Regions from separate parts of the Homo sapiens genome. Here region 2 is linked to region 1. Evidence: promoter capture Hi-C in human tissues and cell types (Jung and others, 2019). All regions are on one chromosome and are shown on one strand. Each heading gives the region's core, a stretch centred on a gene start or on the middle of the fragment in contact. The rest is flanking DNA. Distances are from core to core; before and after follow the strand shown. Region 1 holds the start of ABCF3 (ATP binding cassette subfamily F member 3). Region 2 overlaps LINC02069 (long intergenic non-protein coding RNA 2069).

Evidence for each region. The method cuts DNA at HindIII sites, captures the fragments that hold promoters and counts their contacts. A contact is called where the count stands out against the background at its distance.
Region 2: a contact is called between a fragment that was not itself captured here and the fragment with the promoter of ABCF3 in region 1, in 2 of the 25 tissues and cell types used here (aorta and pancreas).

Annotation. Positions count from the first base shown.
Region 1 is chr3:184,184,264-184,188,306 of GRCh38, forward strand. ABCF3 (ATP binding cassette subfamily F member 3) reads left to right here and starts at 1,936. Exons shown (of 21, transcript NM_018358.3): 1 at 1,936-2,017; 2 at 2,244-2,391; 3 at 2,533-2,612; 4 at 3,134-3,180; 5 at 3,401-3,498; 6 at 3,598-3,720; 7 at 3,878-4,043. The coding sequence starts at 1,945. RefSeq lists enhancers at 729-1,443, 1,921-2,240. The HindIII fragment of the contact is 10,900 bases long and covers 1-4,043 here.
Region 2 is chr3:184,766,466-184,770,508 of GRCh38, forward strand. All of the region lies in intron 1 of LINC02069 (long intergenic non-protein coding RNA 2069), which reads right to left. Among named protein-coding and RNA genes, the nearest start is that of LINC02069, 4.7 kb to the right of the region's middle. The HindIII fragment of the contact is 4,547 bases long and covers 1-3,999 here.

The DNA.
Region 1 (4,043 bases), core at 686-3,185:
GCTCCTCTTAGAAAGCCTCAAGGGCATGCAGCCGCAGCGGGCCCCAGTACCCTGGGGATAGATTCTTTCCCTAGCTCCTTTTTATTCCCCCTGGTCCTCGGACTCCTAGGCTCAAGAGATCTTACCTGCCCCAGCCTCTGGAGTAGCTGGGATCACAAGCACGCACCACCACAGCACCCAGCTCTTTCTCTAATTCTTAGGCAGATGTTTTCTAATTAGATTAAGCATAAATTAAGTGTGAAGTTTACATTTGGTCTTGTAGCCATCCTAAGAAATTGACCTTTTAATTCCATCATTTACCCAAGCTTCCCAAATCTTGCTGACTGGGTGGTAGGAGGAAAGATTTGCAAGGAGAATAACATAATGGACTGGGCGCGGTGGCTCACACTGTAATCCCAGCACTCTGGGAGGCCGAGACGGGTGGATCACCCGAGGTCCGGAATTCGAGACCAGCCTGACCAACATGGGGAAACCTCGTCTCTACTAAAATTACAAAATTAGCCGGGCGTGGTGGTGCATGCCGGTAATCCCAGCTATTCGGGGGCTGAGGCAGGAGAATCGCTCGAACCCAGGAGGTGGAGGCTGCGGTGAGCCAAGATCACGCCACTGTACTCCAGCCTGGGCAACAAGAGCGAAACTCCTTCTCAAATTAAAAAAAAAAAAAAAAAGAATATAATGAATCTCCATGTCTCATCACCCAGCTTCAACTATGATCAATGCGTGGCCAGTTCCTTAATATCACATCCAGTTTGTGTTCACTTAACCAGGTGTCTTATCAAATTTTTCCAGATAAGGTCCATTGTGGTTGGTTAATGCTCCTCAAATTTTAAAAATTGATGTTTCCCTTCAGGTCTTGCAATTTTGTGGAAGAAACCAGAGTTCTGTAGTTTACCACATCAGAATTTGCCTGTTGTCCCCATGAAGTCACTTAACATATTCCTCTTTACCTGTATTTCCTGTAAAATGGTTCAATATCGGGATTGATGCCTCATGATGGCAATGTTTAATCCAAAGGGATGAATGGGTAATAATGTAATTTTCGGTGCCACTTTTAGAGACCAATTGGAGGAATATTCACGTTAAATATAAAGCAGTAGCATCATTTTGGAGGAAATTCCTAACTTCCCGAGGGAATCGGTGAAAGGAAATAGCCTTTTATTGGCATTTATTGAGTGCAGAGAAGTCTGCTCAGGGTGTAGGTAGGGAATAATTTATACAGGCCACGTTGTCCTGGTTTTCTTGCCCTTTGGCGGTGGATTTGGTCGTGCCCTGGGGTGGTGGAAGAACTGAATGGGCTTAATTCACAAAGGTCGGCTGAATTACACAGTGAAAAGGCGGTCGCGGCGGGGAGGCGGGTGGCGCTGGCCACCAGGCTGAGAAGCCCGTAGGGTCTGGGGACCCGCGAAAGCAAAGCACTGAGCAGGGGGCTTCTGAGAGTCAGGGACCGGGGTGAGTCAGCAAAGCTCTGGGCAGGCTCCAAAATGGGCCTGACTGGGTACGCACCAGCAGCAGACGCGCCTCGAGGGAGCGCATAAAACCTGGCAAAGCCAAAGTGCTTTATCAGCCGCCTGCCTCTTGGGAGGCTCCCACCCGCCAGACCACGGGTGCCTCGCGGCCCCGATAAACCTTGAGCTCCCAGCCTTTGCCCCACCCCTCGCTCCCGGAACTCCACCTCCCAGAAGGCAGCGAGAACCGCACATGTGGCTAATCTTTCAGCGGAAAAGGTGTCGCGCACGCGCAGAGAGCGCGGCTCCGGCGCAGACTCGGCGCCTCTCCTCAAGGCCCCGCTCGCCCCGCCCACCGGGCTCTGCGCACTCCGCTCCTTTCCTGCGTCACCGCTACACATGCGCCTTGCAAGGAAGGGCGAGATTTCGGGGGCAGGGCGGGGGGCGGGCCTAGGCCGGGGTCTCACAGCGACTGCGCGGACGGGTTCCTGAGTGGAACATGGCGACTTGCGCCGAAATCCTGCGGAGCGAGTTCCCCGAAATTGACGGACAAGTCTTCGACTACGTGACCGGTAAGCAGAACTGAATCGGCCGGCTGGGGAGACCGAAGTGGAGGCCGGGGGAAAGTCTAAGCGAGCGTCGTGCCCGGGACTGTTGCCAGGCCTCTCCTCTGCATGACCTCTTGTCCCGGGGGCTGGTTGGGTCTGGAGCCTGGACTGGGGCCTCTGTCTGGGGTCTGAAACTGCTTGTGTGTCCACCCTACCCGATACCTTCCTCGTTCTACCACGCCCTGCCCAGGCGTCTTGCACAGCGGCAGCGCGGACTTCGAGTCTGTGGATGACCTGGTGGAAGCTGTAGGGGAACTATTGCAAGAGGTGTCCGGGGACAGCAAGGATGACGCGGGCATCAGGGCCGTGTGCCAGCGCATGTACAACACTCTGCGTCTGTATGTGCCAGGGAGTAGGGGTTGATGGGGGCGAAGGGACGGCGAACGGTCCGGAGACAAGAGGTGGGGGAGGAAGATCTGATGGCCATAGAGCTTTTCCCTCAACTCCTAACTCTGCGCTTTCTATCCCTACCCACATAGGGCTGAGCCACAAAGCCAGGGAAATAGCCAGGTGCTACTGGACGCCCCTATCCAGTTGTCAAAGATAACGGAGAACTACGGTGAGAGTGAGGGGAGGTTGAACTAACTGCCCCCCTGTGCTTTTCTCCGCCCCCAACCATCTGCTGCCTGCAGCTTAGGGCTCCTACGTCTTTTCCACAGGACAAGGTTGTAGGAGCTAGTTGATGTCTTTACCGAGGGCAGAAGAGCCCATGATGGGGGTGGGGAGGAGGTTGGAGGGTTCTCCCTCCAAGCTCTTGGGTAGGATAGGAAGCATAAGAGCCTGGAGCTGGACAGACTTGCTTTCACCCCCAGTTTTGCAACTTGCTAACCAGCTGCATGATCTTGTAAGAGTTGGTTATCTGTCCCCAGCCTTGTCTATGCCTCTGTATCCTTCTACGTGAGTTTTGTTTTGTTTTGTTTTGTTTTGTTTTTAGTGCAGGGAAGATAATAGCCATCTATCTGCAGTATTATAAGGTTTTGTAGAAAACATCTGTGTCTGTGCCTGGTTCCTATTAGTCACTCAAAATGTTAGTTTCCCTTCCCTCAGGGAGAAGGTGACTGCTTTTCTTATCGCTTACAGACTGTGGAACCAAACTTCCAGGACTGCTAAAGAGGGAACAGTCCTCGGTGAGGAGGAGGAAGCAAGGGAGGGGACTGTCTGTGATGGGGTTGGGAGTTGACTGTCTAATTGGAGTATCTTTTGGGGGGATTTCTGACTATGTCTTTTCCTGAGCCTTTGAGTCTGTTCATCATGGGTAAGTTAAGAGGGTTTACTCGAGATGTTCTCTCTTGGGGTTCCTTTCTGAGCCTACACCCGAGAGTGAAGTCGATGTGTTTGGACCCTTAGACAGTGAATGCAAAGAAGTTAGAGAAGGCCGAGGCTCGACTTAAGGCAAAGCAGGAGAAGCGCTCAGAGAAGGACACGCTCAAGACCAGCAACCCTCTGTGAGTGGGGGAAGCATGGCTCAGAAGAGAGCAGAGCAGCTTTTGCCTGGACAGAAGGTGGTGGGGAGCACTAAGAGCTGTCCATTTCTCCCTTTAAAGAGTCTTAGAAGAGGCATCAGCCAGCCAGGCAGGCAGCAGAAAGGAGAGTCGGTTGGAATCATCTGGCAAGAACAAATCCTATGATGTGCGAATTGAGAACTTTGATGTGTCTTTTGGCGATAGGTGAGGGAATAGTGGTGGCAGGGGTTGGCTTTCTTTTTCTAATTAGAGGACAATTTGGAGAGGTGAAACGGGGCTATAAACAATGTTAGGTTTGTCATTAAACTTGCTGTGCACCTATTTCTAGAGCATCTTTGGTCTCCTTTCTCCACTCCTGCAGAGTACTGCTGGCTGGAGCGGATGTGAACCTGGCATGGGGCCGCCGTTACGGGCTGGTGGGGCGGAATGGGTTGGGGAAGACAACGTTACTGAAGATGCTGGCCACCCGGAGTCTGCGGGTTCCAGCCCACATTTCCCTGCTGCACGTTGAGCAAGAGGTTGCTGGA
Region 2 (4,043 bases), core at 476-2,975, 580 kb after region 1:
GAACTCCTCACCTCATATGATCCACCCACCTTGGCCTCCCAAAGTGCTGGGATTACAGGCATGAGGCACCGCGTCTGGCCTGACCTCAGTATCTTTTTCATTCAATCATCTCCATGACTGACCTTCCAAAAGCTCTCCCTCCACCTCTCAGAAATTGTCAGTAGAATCTCATTACTTCTGGCCTCAGCTTGGCACTCAAGGCCCCACCCAGTCAAGTCACAAACTACCTTCCCACCCTTGGCTCCTCCCTCTCATCCTCCTCTTGAAGCTTTATCTTCAGTTAGACTGGAGGATTTGCCTAGACATGCTTTGTGTTTTCCCAACTCCACAGTTCCCTTGGCTTGGAAAGCCACTCCCACCCCTCTGCCTGCTGGATTTCTATGCAGCCTTCAAAGCCCATGACAAATGTCACCTCTCTCATGAAGCCCTCCTTGATTCCATCATTGGAAAATGAGCTTCTCCCTCCTGGGATGTCTCACAGCACCTGGCATACAGGTCTCCACACAAGCAGTTCTCTGTGTGTTGTGGCAGTGGTGTCAAGATTTGGATGTTTGTGAAACTACAAAGACTGCAGGATTCGGCAATACCACTTGTGGGCATGTGTGTGCGTGTGTGTGTCTGTACGTGTGTGTGTGTGTGCGTGTGTGTGTGTTGGTATGAGGAGTGAGCACAGCTACATAAACAATTGTATGTCAGAAAGGGATGAGACACTTACTAGGTTTAGAGTGTGTCAATCACTTCAGTTCTGCCAATGAACAGAGAGCCAGATGTCTCTCTCCAAGGATAGAGAACACTCACAATAAAGACTATAAACACACTTGGGGGAAGAAAGAATGGAGAGAGGGAGGAAATGAACAAGTATGTATGGCTCATTTACTATAGTCCAGGCGCTGCGTTGGAGAGGAAATTTCATGTGAGCAGTGTGCTCACTTAACCCTCACCGTAGCCGAGAGGTAGGAATCTGCCCCTGTTTTGTGGTTGAGTACTGCTTTGGGCCAGGTTCTCAAAACGCAGGCTCTGGGTGTGCGGGGTAACTGGGAGCACTCATGGGCTGTCGGCATGCAGGGTAACTGGGAGCACTCACGGAGCAGCCCCGCTGGGGAGTCATGAAGGCAGGCTGGCACAGGAAAGGCTGAACGGCAGCGAGGCTGGTGTGCTGAAGCTTGGGTGGCCCTTTTAAGATGTGCCCCCATTGAGGCGATGGGATCCTTGTGCCCTCTGGGAGGGGGAAACCCAGGCAAGACGGCTCCCTTCAGCCAAGGGTGGTTCCTGGGGGGGACAGCACCCACTACACGTACACTGTGGATTAGAGAAACGCGTGCCCCCGCCACATGCAGACTGTCAGCAAGTGGAAGGGGCAGGGATGGAACTCCCTTCCACTAAGGGGGCTTCACCAGATTCTCCTGTTTCAAGGAGAAATAGAGTTTGGAAACCTCTCATTTTATAAACGAGGACACTGAGGCACAAAGCAGGGTGGTTGGTGCCTTGCCTAAAGTCATACAGATTTCATGTAACAAATTGTGCTGGTTAGGTAGGGGAGGATGCAGAGCTCACAGCACAGGTGAATACCTCCATCGCAAAGGCTGAACCAAATGCCCCGTTAAATCAGGAGACCTGCCTCTTTCAGCTTTGTTTTCTGAAGAAATCCCTTCCCAGGGGTTGAAGCCCTCAGGCTGTGTCCCGAGGCCTGGTGTGGCCTTCAGTCCATCTCCAGAAGACAGCATAGGCCAGGCGCGGTGTTTCACGCCTGTAAGCCCAACACTTTGGGAGGCTGAGGAGGATCACCTGAGATCAGGAGTTCGAGACCAGCCTGGCCAACATGGTGAATCCCCGTCTGTGCTAAAAATACAAAAATTAGCTGGGCGTGTTGGCGGGTGCCTGTAATCCCAGCTATTTGGGAGGCTGAGGCAGGAGAATCGCTTGAACTCGGGAAGCGTGGGTTACAGTGAGCTAAGATCACACCACTGCACTCCAGCCTGGGCGACAAGAGCAAAACTCCATCTCAAAAAAAAAAGAAGAAGAAGAAGAAGTCAGCCTGGTCACTCTTTGCCCATTGTGCACTGTCAGCTATGAGCGGAAGTCTGCACCTAGAAAGCTCCCAGGAAAAGAATGCTCTTCCCTCTTTCTGAAAGATTTCAGGTAGTTCTGGTATCAAATAATAGCAATGAGAAAGGCAGGTGTGGACTCTTTTGTTACTGATATTTTCTGTTACTGTCTGATTCTTAGTCACATTTTGCTTTTATTTTTATTTTTTTGAGAAGGAGTCTCGCTCTATTGCCCAGGCTGGAGTGCAGTGGTGTTATCTTGGCTCACGGCAACCTCCACCTCCCGGGTTCAAGTGATTCTCCTGCCTCAGCCTCTTGAGTAGCTGGGACTACAGGCACCTGCCATCACATCCAGCTGATTTTTGTATTTTTAGTAGAGACGGGGTTTCACCATGTTGGCCAGGCTGGTCTCGAACTTCTGACCTCAAATGATCTGCCCATCTTGGCCTCCCAGAGTGCTGGGATTACAGGCATAAGCCACCGCGTCCGGCTCTTACTTGTACTTTGGAAACATTGGTAGTGGGATCCAAGTGTGATCTTTAAAATAGTTAACAATCAGGTAAACCCCCAGGACACCGGCGTGGATGCTGGCAGTATGCTGCACCAGCGCATGCCCACTGAACATTACACCTGCTGGGCCCTAGAGGACAAGGTTGTGGTTCTCCCTGAGTGCCGCATGCTGGGGAAGAACCCTGGGAAGGGATTTCTTCAGAAAACAAAGCTGAGAGAGGCAGATCTCTTGATTTAACGGGGCATTTGGTTCAGCCTTTGCGATGGAGGTATTCATCTGTGCTGTGAGCTCTGCATCCTCCCATACCTAGCCAGCACAATTTGTTACATGAAATCTGTATGACTTTAGGCAAGGCACCAACTACCCTGCTTTGTGCCTCAGTGTCCTCGTTTATAAAATGAGAGGTTTCCAAACTCTATTTCTCCTTGAAACAGGAGAATCTGGTGAAGCCCCCTTAGTGGAAGGGAGGCAAGTGGGCCGGGCGCAGGGCCCCCTCCCCTGCTTTAGCTGGAGCGGCTCTCTTGTATTTGTTTATGCCTCCATACGGTTTCACTTAAACCCAGCATTCCTCAACTAAAAACAAAGCTTGGGAAGCGCCGAGCTGCATGTGGTATCTGAGGGCCCCTACTCACGGCTCTGCCATGCTGAGCTGTGATTAGGCGAATGCGTGAGTGAACGAATGAATGAATGAACAGACTCTGTGTTCCTAGCTAACAGAGGCTGGTTCCTGGTCACACCTGTTCTTGGGACAGATGGCCAGCAGTCTTGGGTAGTTCAGAAATCTACACAGGGCTAGACTGGACGCTCTCCCGACATCCCATCAAGTGTAGGGTTCTGTCTGTCTCCGCTGTCGCCACTGACAAGGCCTCCTCCCTTTGGGCATCTCGGATGCCACCAGGTATGAAGTGGAAAGTCATCAGCGGCGAGTCGCCCTGTGTTTGTCTTCTTCGGCTCTCCCGATGTGTTGACTCAGCTGAAAAAAGATACTGACAACAGCACCCCGAGTCACCGGCAGGCTTGGCAGAAGATTCACTGGGTTTTCTCGGTGTGTGTCCCGGGGTGTGGCACCAGGTCTGGCTCACGTCAGTTTTCTTCCATCACAGGGAAAGGGCTTCCAGTTTTGGCCTTGTCCTCCCTCCCACCACCCCTACTTCCTCCCTTCCTTGCCTCCTTCCTTTCCTTCCTCTAAGGCAGTGGTTCTCAACCTTGGCTGCACGTTGAAATTGCCCAGGGAGACTTAAAAATTACTGATGCCCAAAGATTCTGATTTCATGGTTCGAGGTATGGCCTAGGAAATAGAGTTTTTTTAAAGTTCCCTAGGTGATTCTAATACGCAGCCAAGGTGGGGAACCACTGGTCTGAGGACACGGAGTAGGGATCCTAATTTTAGCCTCAACCGTTTCCTAGTCTGCTGGGTTTGGAAAAGTGTGGGGCACAAATGTCTACTGGCAGTGGATGGAAGGAAAGGGAAGTAGAGAGAAACATAC